2 separate regions of the Homo sapiens genome follow, and region 2 is linked to region 1. Evidence: promoter capture Hi-C in human tissues and cell types (Jung and others, 2019). All regions are on one chromosome and are shown on one strand. The core of a region is centred on a gene start or on the middle of the fragment in contact, and the rest is flanking DNA. Distances in the headings are between cores, read along the strand shown. Region 1 holds the start of KCNG4 (potassium voltage-gated channel modifier subfamily G member 4). Region 2 overlaps MBTPS1 (membrane bound transcription factor peptidase, site 1).

Region 1 (3,454 bases), core at 370-2,869:
GTCTCGCTTAATCCCTCTTGGTCGCTTCCCCATTTGGGGAGGCCTTTGCTAAGGGGACGGAGGAGCATTGCGTACTTGCAATCACAGTACTCCTCCATGTTCGTTGCGTGCTTGCCTCAGCCATCCTTGCTGTGTGACCTCCAGCCAGTTACTCCCCCTCTCTGGGCCCGCAGGCTTTTATGTGCAGAATGAAGGGGCCTCCAGCCGCAGTGGTTCATGCCTGTAATCCCAGCACTTTGCGAGGCAGAGGCAGGCAGATCATCTGAGGTCAGGAGTTCGAGACCAGCCTGGCCAATGAAACCCTGTATCTACTAAAAATACAAAAATTAGCTAGGCAAGGTGGCATGTACCTGTAGTCCCAGCTACTCGGGAGGCTGAGGCAGGAGAATCGCTTGAACCCGGGAGGCGGAGGCTGCAGTAAGCCGAGATTGCGCCATTGCACTCCAGCCTGGACAACAGAGCGAGACTCCATCTCAAAAAGAAAAAAACAAAAAAAAATGACGGGGCCTCTAATGCTGTCTCCATTTCAGACCTATATGAGGTGCTTGACTTAGTGTGAGTGTTTTAGATTTAGCCACTTCACATATTTAAAAAGTCCTTTTCATAATATTTCTCACCTTCAGATCCTGCAACCATTTCTTATGCTATTCATTCTAGCCAAAGCCATTTCCAAAGCATCTATAAGCTTACATTTTCAGATGCACTCCACTCCAATCAAGAGAAAAACTCGGCAGTGGAACGGAAATCAAAGTTCCTCTCAATTTCAGAGCCGGTTGGATTCCGGTGGATAGTGGAGAGTGAATCGTAACCTATTTCACACTCTTGCTCCCTACACAACATTCTGTTGCTCTGAATGCATTACTTTGCTCACAGGGAATGGCCAGAGGAGGATGAGGAGCCTGCAGAGAGAAGAGTATTTTGAAATCTGGGGAGCCCTTTGCAAGCTTCCTCATTTTCCCAGTGCAAAAACCAAGACCCAGCGAGCGGAAGTAACTTGTCCAAGGTCACACAGCAAATCCGAATCCAACCCAGCACTCTGTCCCCCAGCCTGGGGCTCCTTCCAGAACCTGAAAACTGCCCTTTCTGCATTCACTGAATAAACCCAATTTTGCCATCTACGGCTCTCCAAACAGCTGGCAAACAGCTCCTTCTGGAGCACGGGAAAGGAATTCACTCAAACCAGCACTTTTGCCAAGGATGTCTAACAGCGTCAACTTCCCCCTGGCCCCCGCCCACCCTACAGCAAGCAGTAACTCTTCCCCTCCAGTTTAACTCACCTTCTTGTCTCAGGGAGCCAGTTTCCAGCTGTTTCTCTGCCAGGCAAGGGGAGCCCATCTCTTGGTGCCCAGGGAAGGGACAGGTTTCTGGTGGAGATGAAGGGGAAGAAAAAAATCCCCAAAACAGCAGTTTCTAGCAGAGTCAGTTTCCAATCTTTCTTCCCGTGCCTCCTCCAGAAACCAGAAGTTCATTCATTCTGCATCTCTCTCTCCAGCAGCTGCAGGAGAGCCCTGGGGGATTGAGGTGGGATTTTTTTTTTTTTTTAAAGGACCCAGAAGTCCCTTTCCTTATGAGAGATGAGGGTCTGGGGGTTCTTGCTGGGAGGGAGCCAGGGCAGCTGTCCTGGTTGAGCAGCGGACTCTGCACTTCAAGTCCCACGGGGACAGCCAGTGTGGGGGGGTGTGGAATGGGAAGGGCTTAGAAATAATCTCTCCATCAGCCAGCAGCAGGAAGAAGCAGCAGCCGCTGCCACTCTGCCAACCGCCTAGGAGGCAAGGGGAGCTGTCCTCCCTCCTCTGGCATGGAGGAGCACAACTCGGGAGGAGCAGAGGGCAACTTGGGGCCGGAGGCATCTGCAGCTACCTGTCCCAGGCACCCCAGAGTCTCTCGGGGTATGCTGATGATGGTGACAGGCTCAAGTTGAAGCTGCAGGAGGAACTTTTTGCTGCTTTTAAGCAGCCCAGGCCTGGGACAGGTTCAGACAGAAGCCCAGGCTCTGAGCGCTGGGTGGGAGTCAGGGGGGCTGTGTTACAGAACAGCAATAGGAAGAGCTCCGAGCTTGGAATTCACACACATGCCTGGATCCTGGCTCCTATGTGAAAGGCTGGGTGACCTTGGCCAGGTGAGTTAGTGCTTCTGAGCCTCAATTGTCTTGTCTCTAAAACATGGGAATGAGAGAGGGTTCAGGGAAGGTCAGAACCATAAGTGCAAGCTCCTGTGCTGGTTGGATGGTTGGGTGGGTGAAAAGGAAGAGGCATCAGTCCAGGGCCTGGGTGTGAACTTGGACTCTGCACTGCCTGGCTGTGTGTTCTTGGTCAGTCACTTCCCCTCTCTGGGCCTTGGGTTTCTCAGTCAAATGAGGACAGTGAAACCAGCGATGGCTGCAATTGTAAAACCAGCATCTTGTAGTTGCTCACTACACGTTGACTGTTCTTCACTTTCTTAAGAGGTTTTGCAGCCCAGGCTCTTGGCTTCTGAATGTGTTATCTTCACTGCATTTGATAGTTGAGGCCCTGAGAAGAGGCTTGCTCAAGGTCATCTTGCTGGTTAGAACCATCACTTAGGCCGGGTGTGGTGGCTCACAGCTGTCATCCCAGAACTTTGGAGGCGGAGGCGGGCAGATCACAAGGTCAGGAGTTTGAGACCAGCCTGGCCAACGTACTGAAACCCTGTCTCTACTAAAAATACAAAAATTAGCTGGGCATGGTGGCGGGTGCCTGTAATCCCAGCTACTCGGGAGGCTGAGGCAGGAGAATTGCTTGAATCCGGGAGGCGGAGGTTGCAGTGAGCTGAGGTCGCGCCACTACACTCCAGCCTGGGTGACAAAGTGAGACTCTGTCTCAAAAAAAAAAAAAAAAAAAAAGAACCATCACTTAACAGACGCTTGAGTTTTGATGGGAGGATCCAGGAGTGAGGGAGATTAGAGGGTGAGCCTTCCACAGCTGCCTGCAAGGGGATGACAGGTGCTGCTGACCTAGGTGGGCTCTCTGTGGCCTTGGCAATGGGAACGAATCCAAGCAGAGAAGAGAACTGACTGAATGGAGGTCCATCTGGTATTGCGGTTTTCAAATGGTATTGCTTGAAGCCTTAGGGCTCTGCAGAAATGATTGAGGGGCCTGGCCTGGGGCAGTGACAACGGGGAGGATGAACCCCTGGACCTGCTACCTCAGCCATGGCAGCTGCACTCTGATCTGTCTCCATAAGACTGTAAGTGTAACCCCAATAAAGGCTGTGGCCCAGCATGGTCCAGTGTCCACACAGAGCCACTCAAAGAGATCCCAGAGCACCTGCCAGTAATGGAGAAGTTTCCTTCCCTCCTTCCACTGACTCCCGTGTTCCTCAGACCCCACAGCTGCTCCAATGGTGCTCTTAGAAGAGTCTTCAGAATTGTCTTTCCAGCTCATGATTCCTCCTCCTACCCCAGCTGTCTCCCCACCTCTCTCAGCTGTTTCTTATT
Region 2 (3,454 bases), core at 1-2,500, 150 kb before region 1:
CATTTGATCAGCAGGGTTATTCAGAGTGCTATATTGAGACCAAAAAAAAAAAAAAAGAAAAGAAAAAGAAAAAAACAAGAGAAATAATTTAAAATGGATGATTCAAACCAGGGCGAATACTCCCAGAACAATCTAACACTGTATGAGCTGCTTCTGTGGGAAGACGTGTGCAGCTCCTCACGGCTGTCCTGTGAAACGCATGATCCTGCCACGTTCATGCTGTGCTCACATTACGCCCTCTCACCTGCAACGCCCCTCCTTTCTTCTCCTCCCTGTCAACTTGGCACACTGGGGCTCAAGGCTCACGTTTTCCCTCCAGCAATCCAAGCCTTAAGCATCTGTACTTGCCTTGAACCTCACAACACTTAACACAATCACAATTTATCACCTAACGACACATTCTCACATCACTTTCAAATTGTTCCCAGCACATTCATCTTAACTCCCCAGCTAAATCACACACTTCTCCTGGAAGAAACCATAACCACACATTTACATCTGCCAAGGTCAGGAAGTGGTAAGTTTTCGATTGACCTGTGGTGGTGTTCTACCCTCCTCATAGGGAACTGTAGAAGGACTATCATTACTCTGTAATCTTGAGCTCCTTAGAGTCTCTCCAATACCTTAAGTGCACTAGATCTGCAAAGAAATTATAGTGAAATAAATAATGGCAAAAATGTGTAAACCGTAAAGTCAAGATAAAGATGAACCATTTGAAAATATGAGACACTCAGTTATAAAACTGCATTGCTAAGCTTTATTATGGCTCCACTACCAAAAAAAATGAACTCTTTGACAAATCAACAACTACATACAACTGATTCCAAGTGGCTTAAGAGATAATAGCAGCATGAAGTTCTCCTTCTAGAGTGTGTTTTTAACTGACAATTCCCAACACACCGAGAAAAAGTGGTACTGCCTCCTCAGCCCACTGGCCACCAATATCCTACCAGCTGGTCATTCAGAGGAACGAATAATGATTTTCTGATGACTGATGCTAGATGTTTACACATTCCCAGGAACTCAAGGAGCAGAGGCTGGTACAGAAGTCACTGACAGAAACTCCCACTGAAGTTGACCAAAAAAATACCACCTTCCCACCCTCCTCTACCTGCTAAGCCCTATAATGCTTAGTGTACTTTAAACCCTTAAAAAATAAGGGAACGCATCAAGAAATCATTGCTGGTATTGAAAAGGAGGGACGTGAGGCTGCAGGCTTGCTGGCACCACAGAGTCTAGGAGCACCAAGGGCACAGGACCCAGACAAAGAGACCACAGCAAAGGGGACCGGAGGATGTGTGCCTCATTCCCAGAGGGGCTGACGTATGCATGTTACTGTCCTCAGACCAGCCCTGGAAGCAGTCCCACCAGATGCCCAAGCAGAAAAAACCACACCCACCACAAGCTGGGCTGCCGTGATCACATGCCACGTTCTGTCACTTCAACAGCCAGCAGGTGGCCAGGTCTGTGTGAGGCAGCATGAGCGTACACACAAGGTGGAGATGGGGCCTTCCTGGCAAGGCTCTGCTCCTTCAACACACCATAAACTCACAACTCTGGTAAGAAGCTACGGAGTGCAACCACCCACAAAAGCCACAGGGTTTCAGAACGGCAGCCAGCGTGTGACAAAACAGTCCGAACAGCATGCGAAAGAGCTGGGAATCCAGACAGGTATGGCCAGGAGGATGGGCAGAGGGATGGGGTGCGGAAGACCTGAGAGAAACAGAAGGAGGACACTCATTCCAGGAAGGTGTACATGGGGAAGTGGAAGATCAAGGTGAACTGAGATTGTGGCTGGAGTTGGCCAACTACGGCCCATGGGCCAAACCAGGCCCACACCTGTTTTTGCAAATACAGCGTTCCTGGAACACAGTCATGTTCATTTACACATATATCACCCGCAGCTGCTTTCACACAATAACGCCTAAAATATTTATTATCTGACCCTTTACAGAAAAAGTTTGCAATTCAGCCTAGAATACTGAAGACCTTGAAAAACAAAAGAAAAATGTGGATTTCATCTATTAGGCAATAATAAACTGCTGCAGATTCTTGATTAGAAAACTGCTACAATATATGTTTGAACAGTAGAAATACGCACAAAAAAGAAAAAGAGCAGCTTCCATTCAAAGAGCATCATCAGCATTCATGGTGCTCTCCCCCTGCTGTCTGATTTCAGTCTCATAGGTACTCTGCAGGCTGCTCTCTACTCCCATCACAGGTGAGGGAGCTGAGGCTCAGAGAAGTGACGGTGCCTCAGCCGTAAGTGGCAGGTCGGACCTGTCTGCTTCCACACCTAGTTTCACCCATGTCCATGCTGGAAGAGCTGGGGTGGGAAAAGACTCAAGATTGGAAAACAGGCTAGGAAACACTGACACCTGGTGACTCTGAACCGATGAGTGCCAGCCTTGAGTGGGGACATCAGAAATGGGAGGAACATTTAAAAGGGAGACAAGAACACCTGACGAGATGACTTAATAACTGGTGTTTGTCATGGCAGAGCTATAGCGAGGGTATGTTCATGCCACTTACATCTATGGCTCATGATACGTATCACTGATGCGACAGCAAAATCCAGAACCCTGGACCTCTAACAAGGTTCACGATCATTTACTCAACTATTAGGCTAGAGTCCTATGAATGCCAATATTCACGTTTTCTGATATGCAAACATGAACTTCACATAGCTTCACCTTGTCTTATGCCCTGGATTTGTGTAAAGCATCCTACAGAAACTTCGAGCACAAGAAATGACTTATAAACATTATCTAGAGAATAAAATGAAGCTGCTGGTGGAAAGAAAACTGAGACCTCTAACCAGACAGGAGCGTACTGGCTGGGATTCAGTGGCAAATGTTTCGCATCTCACGCTGCTTAAGTTTAGCACAAAGGCCCCCCTGTGACACTGTCCTCCCTGCCTCCCTCCTAAATGATCCCTCTCATCAACTCCCAAAGCACCGGCCATGTTGCCGTTAGGCCCGCCAGCACTTCCCCTGTGAATGAGTGTCACTGTGCTCGCACCTGCTCTTTCAGAGAGAGGCAGAAACCTCTTCCGTTTGCCTCTTTACCCGGATGCTTTGCACACAGATCTCATCAACACTGCAGAATCCCTAATAGATTCACTTTTCTGATTGATTTTTGGGGAAAAAAAGTAGTTAGAATAAAAACTTTAGGCCTCTAAATTACTATTTGTAACAAAATTTTAAAAATATATAAATAGAAGGAAGACCGGCCTTGAGGTGACAACTGCTGAGGTGAGTGGTGAGTACCTGGGTGTTCATCTACATCCTATAGTATTTTTTTACATGAGGAAAACATCCTTAAGACAAGTTTTAGACAGACATAAACAAGTAACCATAGGTAGATACACAAACAGATAACAATTTTTCAGTTATTTAAGGGGGAAAAAATCCCCGAGGTCATCCCTGCTGGGGCTACTTACCCATAAAGAGGT

Evidence for each region. The method cuts DNA at HindIII sites, captures the fragments that hold promoters and counts their contacts. A contact is called where the count stands out against the background at its distance.
Region 2: a contact is called between a fragment that was not itself captured here and the fragment with the promoter of KCNG4 in region 1, in 2 of the 25 tissues and cell types used here (heart left ventricle and mesendoderm cells).

What each region holds. Positions count from the first base shown.
Region 1 is chr16:84,238,393-84,241,846 of GRCh38, forward strand. KCNG4 (potassium voltage-gated channel modifier subfamily G member 4) reads right to left here and starts at 1,620. Exons shown (of 3, transcript NM_172347.3): 1 at 1,278-1,620. The HindIII fragment of the contact is 8,358 bases long and covers 1-3,454 here.
Region 2 is chr16:84,087,433-84,090,886 of GRCh38, forward strand. It overlaps MBTPS1 (membrane bound transcription factor peptidase, site 1), which reads right to left. Exons shown (of 23, transcript NM_003791.4): 8 at 3,443-3,454; 9 at 1-28. Among named protein-coding and RNA genes, the nearest start is that of MBTPS1, 28 kb to the right of the region's middle. The HindIII fragment of the contact is 3,166 bases long and covers 1-2,833 here.